Linked DNA regions of Homo sapiens: region 2 is linked to region 1. The links are contacts of gene promoters, found by promoter capture Hi-C in blood cells and fetal thymus (Javierre and others, 2016). All regions are on one chromosome and are shown on one strand. Each heading gives the region's core, a stretch centred on a gene start or on the middle of the fragment in contact. The rest is flanking DNA. Distances are from core to core; before and after follow the strand shown. Region 1 holds the start of GAST (gastrin). Region 2 overlaps SMARCE1 (SWI/SNF related BAF chromatin remodeling complex subunit E1).

Region 1 (3,533 bases), core at 606-3,105:
GCCTATGGAATAGGAGACATGCTTCTATTTGTTGAAATTGTCATCCCTCATGTAACCAGCCTGGGGAAGAACATTCAAGGGGGCATAACCCCCTCCATGGGCACAAACTGAGTCTTGGGCTCTGGTACAACCAGGGTTCTACTGAAAACTTATCATTTCCCATTAGTGTTACCATAGCAACACGAATGTCTTCATTCATTCCCCTAGTGTATGAACAGAGCTACACTCACCCCACCTGTTCTCCCAAGCCCCCTCAAAGTCCTTTCATCTCTGAGATTCTGTGATTCAATTAATTATCACCAATGCCTGCACTGCTTTTTGTCGTTTTCATTTATTCCATCTGCTGAGTCACCGTGTCCTGCTCTAGATGAGAGTGGTTATTCACAACGGTTATTCAGCCGTCAGTTGCCATGGACACCGCACAGCCTGCTTCCTTCATCACCCATTAATTCTCAGCAAGGCTGGCTGTAAGCATGGGTACCACTGCAGTTACCCAATACCCAAGGGGATCAAACTCTCCCAGAAAAGGTGGGGGCCCAATGACGCATGAACAGGAGCAAAATCTCTGCTCTCAACAGTGGAAAAGTAAAAAACAGCCTACGGCTCATTACATCTGGTCAAACCATGTGGAGGCAGCAGTTTATCAAATAAGTCAACAAGGTACCATTTTGTTTTCTGGTCCATCTTTGGCAAATGCTTTAGTCTGTTTGCTAACCATTTGAAGGTATATTTTGATACTGAAAAGTTGTTGGCTGGGCATGGTGGCTCACGTCTGTAATCCCAGAACTTTGGCAGACTAAGCTGGGCCGATCATGAGGTCAGGAGTTCGAGACCAGCCCGCCCAACACGATGAAACCCCATCTCTACTAAAAATACAAAAAATTAGCCAGGCGTGGGGGCGTGCGCCTGTAATCCCAGCTACTAGGGAGGTTGAGGCAGAAGAATCGCTTGAACCCAGGAGGCGGAGGTTCCAGTGAGCCGAGATCACACCACTGCACTCCTGCACTCCAGCCTGGTGACAGAACTAGACTTTGTCTCAAAAAAAAAAAAAAGTTGTTATGCAGATTACTAGCTCCCCTTGAAAGCAAAATGAAGGAGGCTTCAAAGGCAGGACCCTCCAGGAATTGGTTCTGCATAGGGGGTTTGCAAGTGGTGGTGCATGGGCAGCTGACCTAGAAGACACGGGGCAGCTACAAGCCAAACCCAGCCCAGCACAGAGGGCCTAAGGAGAAGAAGGCACCAAGGGTGTTCCATGGTAGGGGGAGGGTGAAAGGACTTCAGAGGTGACCAGGATGTGAGCCACTAGAAGGAGAGAACAGGGCCATCAGCCCACAACCCATTGCTCCTGGTAACACGTTATGTTTGCAGAGTCCAGTGGAGGGGACGGGGAATCAATACATCACCCCACATTCACACGCTTGCCAAACATCAGTGGATGGCGAAATCCACTTTCCCTGAATCTAAGCCCATCGGGTTCACTCCCTCACCTACCACCACCCACAAAGGTCCCTATGTAGTTCGAGAGATAAGTGCCAGGCCTCTGACCCCCAGGATATGGTGGGAAGCATTGCTCCTGACCCAGGGAGCTTGGTTCCTGCCCCTCAGGTACAGCTGGAGAGCTGCCGCCACCCCGCTCCAGCCCCTCACCATGAAGGTCAACTCCCCTATCCTTCCCCCACATCCTGGATGACTGACTGACACTAAATGAAAGGGCGGGGCAGGGTGATGGGCTGTACCTGTGCCCCACCCCATTCCTCTCGCCTGGACTCATATGGCAGGGTAGGGGCGGGGTGGGGGGACAGTTGGGAGGGACCTTGAGGGCTTTATAAGGCAGGCCTGGAGCATCAAGCAGAGCAGAGACCTGAGAGGCACCAGGCCCAGCCGTGGCACCACACACCTCCCAGCTCTGCAGGTGAGAAAACCCAGGAGGAGAGGGGAGAGGCTAGGAAGTGGGTTGACAGGTCCTCTCCCCCATCAAGGTACCAGGCCACTGGCCAGAGTCTGGGGCTCACCCCTTGGGGTCTCCAGAGCTGGGACCCTTTCTTTATCCCAGGATGGAACTAGGTCTTGGCTCCAGTACCTACCCTGGTATTCCCAACCTTGCCTTCCACCTGCCCTTCTGCCGCAGCCGGGGCCCTGCCCTTAGCCTATCCCTTCACACTCTTCCCAGCCCTGGGAGGTGAGGAGGACTGGGGTTCTTCTCCTTTCTCTCAGACAAGAAAACTGAGGCCCAGAGGCAAGATGTGACTTGCCCAAAGTCACAGGGATTATTAGGCAAGGCTGGGATAGGAATCCACAGCTCCTGGATCCCACTTCAAGCCCTTTCCTAGACCAGTGCCATCCAAAAGAACGTCCTATGATGCAGGAAATGGTCTTCATCTGCACTGTTCAATATGGTAGCCACTAGCCACGTGTGCGCTTGAAATGGGGTTAGTGTAAGGAAGTTTTTGTTGTTGTTGTTGTTTGTTTTTTTATATAGAGTCTCGCCGTGTCACCCAGGCTGGAGTGCAGTGACATGCAACCTCTGCCTCCCAGGTTCAAGCAATTCTCCTGACTCAGCCTCCCGAGTAGCCGGGATTACAGGCGCCTGCCACAACACCCAGCTAATTTTTCATATTTTTGGTAGAGACAGAGTTTCACCATGTTGGCCAGGCTGGTCACAAACTCCTGACCTCAAGTGATCCAACCCCCTCAGCCTCCCAAAGTGCTGGGATTACAGGCGTGAGCCACTGCACCTGACCATAATTTTTTAATTTAATTAATTTAAATGTAAAGAGCCACATGTGGCTGGTGGCTATAGCACTGAACAACACATGTGGTTAGCATCTGACAATACAGCTCCAGATCACTGATTTTTCAAACATTTCTTCAGCAGCAGAATTCTTTTCTTCCAAAGAAAACCTAACAGAAAACCTGATTATGAAAAACTTAATGGCCAGGCACCGTGGCTCATGCCTGTGATCACAACACTTTGGGAGGCTGAAGCAAGCAGATTGCTTGAGCTCAGGAGTTCCAGACCAGCCTGGGCAACATAGTGAGACCTCATCTCTACTAAAAATAAAAACAAAAAAATTAGCTGGGCATAGTAGTGCACACTTGTAGTCCCAACTACTCAGGAGGCTGAGGTGGGAGGATCTCTTGAGCCCAAGAGGTCGAGGCTGCAGCGAGTCAGGATCACGCCAGCCACTGCATTCCAGCCTGGGAGACAGAGCAAGATTCTGTCTCACAAAAAGAAAAGAAAAAAAGAAAAACTTAAAAGCAGTACAGTATTTTATTAATACAAATGTATTCTGACAAGAGAAAATTTTTATCATTTTCTTATGATAAAGCCAATCAGAATAGTGAGACCAAAAGCATACAAAAATAGTGAGTCCAGGGAATAGATGAGCATTTGAATTTTATGTTTGTTTGAGATTCCAGTTTAGTTCTGTATTATGTTTTCCCCAAACTTGATTCACCCTGATACATAATTGCTAATGGTGACAGCTTAATTTTTTCTTAACTGCTTCATTATAATCACAGGATATTCCTCA
Region 2 (3,533 bases), core at 1,034-3,533, 1.1 Mb before region 1:
CCCTGTATTTTAGGCAGATGGTTTCCATGATCTGGAGATGTTGTGTCTCAAGTGCAATACACTGGGGAGGAAACACGACTTTACCAGATTAGAGAAAACCATGTTTGAAAAGAGACAGTCCTTCTATCCCAGGAGAGACACATTGGAGGGGAGACGACAGGACAATGAGAATGTAAACTATCTACGTTCCAAATTTTTCTGTACATTAAAAAAATTAAAAATTCTAAAAAAGAAAACGGAAATTGTCTTCTGAAAGGATCTCAAGGAGCACATGTCTTGAAATACCTGAAGATCTTTTACTTGGAAGGTGATGACATGTACTCTAATTGACTTCAAGTTGTGTAAGAGGGAGGCTGAAATTATAGGAAGACAGATTTTTAGTTCAGTGAGAGGAAATACCTTTAGTGAACTAAAGAAGGAATGAGCTATCTTAAGACATGATGGGCTCCCCAAGACTAGAAGTATTTATTTAAACAGAACCATGACGACCTTAGGGGACCTGGGACCAAGTGCTAGACGGGTGTGGAGGTGGCTGACCGAGGGTCCTTGCTGCCCCTTAAAGTCAAGGAGTTTAAGGCAGCCTTTCCTTTCTTTCAAGTGGCTCCTCAAAGGGAGCCATTATCTGCAGCTACTGTCTCAGTTTTATGTAAAGAGTATTTATCATTTGGGAATTTCCCCTCCCCATATAATACTTTTGACTCCTGAATGCATGCAAAAGAGCTGTAAGAAACTTTCTGGTGCTAAATGAGAAAATGTGTGAACATAAATGAGCTAGTTTAACTAAAAGTTCACCAAAATGTATTTTAAACATCAGGCTCTTAAAAACTCAATAGTTTGAAATTTGCATTTTAATCAGCGTTTGGCTAACAATATGAGATAAACTATTAGAGAAGTGTAGGTCATTCTGGCAAATAGAAAGTTCCATCATTTCACACTTAGAAAGCTGCCACGAAGAGCTTATTCTTGGAGTATAAAATGCAGAATTTAGGTTAAGCCAGTCATTTTGTAGATGAAATTGTACACTGGCAATTTCTTATGGTTCAACCTAATAGTAAAACATTTATAAACAATTGTATCATTACAAATACATTTAGACATCGTTTTCTGCTAAACTCAGTATTTTCCTTTCCATCCTGATCAAAGAAACATTATTGCAGTAAGCCACATTATAATTCAGCACGATTTCTTCTAAAAAGGCTCCGAGTTCCTTTGAGCTTGTTATTGTACAGTGGATTTTTCATTTGCAAAGACGTTAAGCCCTCCAAATGTGCAAATCATGAAGTCAGTTGTTGTTCCAGCAAGGTTTGCCCAGCGGTAAAAAACAAGATAAAACTAATGCACTAGCTGAAACCAGGTGGGGAGACCATGTGTGGTAGTGCTTGGGGGTGGAGGGAAACTATTTCTGAAATGAGGACTTAAAGTATAATACCAGCTTCACTGCCTGTTCACGAGAAACCAAAGCTTCAATTTAACTGCAGGCAATAGGAGTTTCACACTGTCAGCACCAACTGTCTAAAATCCAAAACTAGTATCTAAATGTGTAGGATCAAAACCAAAAATCTGGAGGGATCTAGTTAAACTTCAATATGCATGACCCCAGATTCCCCTTTAAAATATAGTCCAAGTATTTTATCTTTTCCATAGGGCATTGACATTATTGTGTTAATGTGAAATAGCTATTTACCTCTCCAAACCTCGGCTTTATAGAATAGATAATTATCACATCCTGTAGGAGAGCCATTTGAAAAGACAGCCTTGTTTACAGACAGGAGAAGTTACAGAATTTAAAACTGTTAGAAAATTGGGGGACTATGGGGCTGGGCGCGGTGGCTCACGCCTGTAATCCCAGCACTTTGGGAGGCAGAGGAGGGTGGATCAGGAGGTCAAGAGTTCGAGACCAGGCTGGCAAACATGGCAAAATCCTGTCTCTACTAAAAATACAAAAATTAGCCGGGCGTGGTGGCGGGCGCCTGTAATCCCAGCTACTCAGGAGGCTGAGGCAGGAGAATTGCTGAAACCCAGGAGCTGGATGTTGCAGTGAGCCGAGATGGCGCCATTACACTCCAGCCTGGGCAACAGTCAGACTGTCTCAAAAAAAAAGGAAAATTGGGTGACTATCGAGGATTCCCCTCTCCCATTTGTTAAAAAAAATTAACAAAATTTAGGCCCTCAGACTTTATGCATTCATACTCAAAATAAATGCACTAAAAATCAAGGAGCAGTAAGGGCACCAAGAAAGAGCAGTTTGATCTATTTTATAATTAAAACAGGCTCGAGTTCAAGCTACTTGCCCAGCACCTTTTGGGACATGGGAAAAAAACAAAGACCTCTACCATATCCCACATTCTCTAAACTGAGAACCATCTCAAACATCAAGTCTACATATATCACTCTGACCAAGTGGATTTTTACATCAATCTTCCCCTGCTGAGGTTCAGAGCTGTCAAATCCCAACTGAGGCCGGGCACAGTGGCTCACGCCTGTAATCCCAGCACTTTGGGAGACTGAGGCAGGCGGATCACCTGAGGTCACGAGTTCAAGATCAGCCTGGCTAACATGGTGAAACCCCATCTCTACTAAAAAATACAAAAATTAACCGGGCATGGTGGCGAGAGCCTGTAATCCCAGCTGCTCTAGAGGCTGAGGCAGAGAGAATTGCTTGAACCTGGGAGGTGGAGGTTGCAGTGAGCTGAGATCGCCACCACTGCACTCCAACCTGGGCGACAGATTGAGACGTCTCCCATCTGACTTAATTCCCTCATCAACTGATTGCCAGTGTTGTATGGACAGGCTTGGTCTGGATAGACTTGTCTTCCCACTGCTATTTCCAGCCGGGCAAAAGAACCACTTCCATTCTCTTAGAGCTTTCGATACCACAGTAAATAACCTGGTATCTTGCTGGGGCAGTTTTCCACCCATATTAAACTACATCTGCCCCATTTTGACTACTAGAAAATGTATCAAAGAGGCTGTCCAATTTGTCTGAGATGAGATGGCTGAAGTTCTTAGCCAAATAATGGCCAAAGCTCAAAACAGATCTATTTGATACAAATTCGTTCTTTGACACACAAGGAAACAGATGTCAAGAGTTGTTTCCACCCAGTATCAAGCTTCCTCCCCTCCTCTCTCAGGAGGCTGAACACACATTCCTAGTCACTAATGTGCTATGAACTGAATAGCAGTGAATCCACTTAAATTAACTCATGCTGGTACAGAGTCCTCTCCATATAGGCACAGGACTTAACATTTATCATTTAGCCATTCTTTCAAAGATAATTCAAACGTTACAGATTTCTCCATATTCCTGTTAATGTAGAAACATATTCCCTTTACTTTTGGAATCAAAGACCAACTTCCATATGTGACAATGACTATAATGTAAGAAAACTGATTTTCACAAGTGTCTTGTACAAATAAGCTACTGCAGCAGTTTATAGAGATAGTTGGGTGAGACAAGGGCCCTGAGTACACAAATTTATAATGGCTGAGTGGTCATTCCACACTGTCACTGCATTACAGAAAAAAACTGGATG

What was found. Contacts are between HindIII fragments. The CHiCAGO score rates a contact against its expected background, and 5 or more counts as called.
Region 2: a contact is called between a fragment that was not itself captured here and the fragment with the promoter of GAST in region 1, in 1 of 17 cell types (M2 macrophages). The highest score is 5.7, in M2 macrophages.

Annotation. Positions count from the first base shown.
Region 1 is chr17:41,710,476-41,714,008 of GRCh38, forward strand. GAST (gastrin) reads left to right here and starts at 1,856. Exons shown (of 3, transcript NM_000805.5): 1 at 1,856-1,912. The HindIII fragment of the contact is 7,695 bases long and covers 1-3,533 here.
Region 2 is chr17:40,624,132-40,627,664 of GRCh38, forward strand. It overlaps SMARCE1 (SWI/SNF related BAF chromatin remodeling complex subunit E1), which reads right to left. Exons shown (of 11, transcript NM_003079.5): 11 at 831-3,533. Among named protein-coding and RNA genes, the nearest start is that of SMARCE1, 22 kb to the right of the region's middle. The HindIII fragment of the contact is 1,649 bases long and covers 1,460-3,108 here.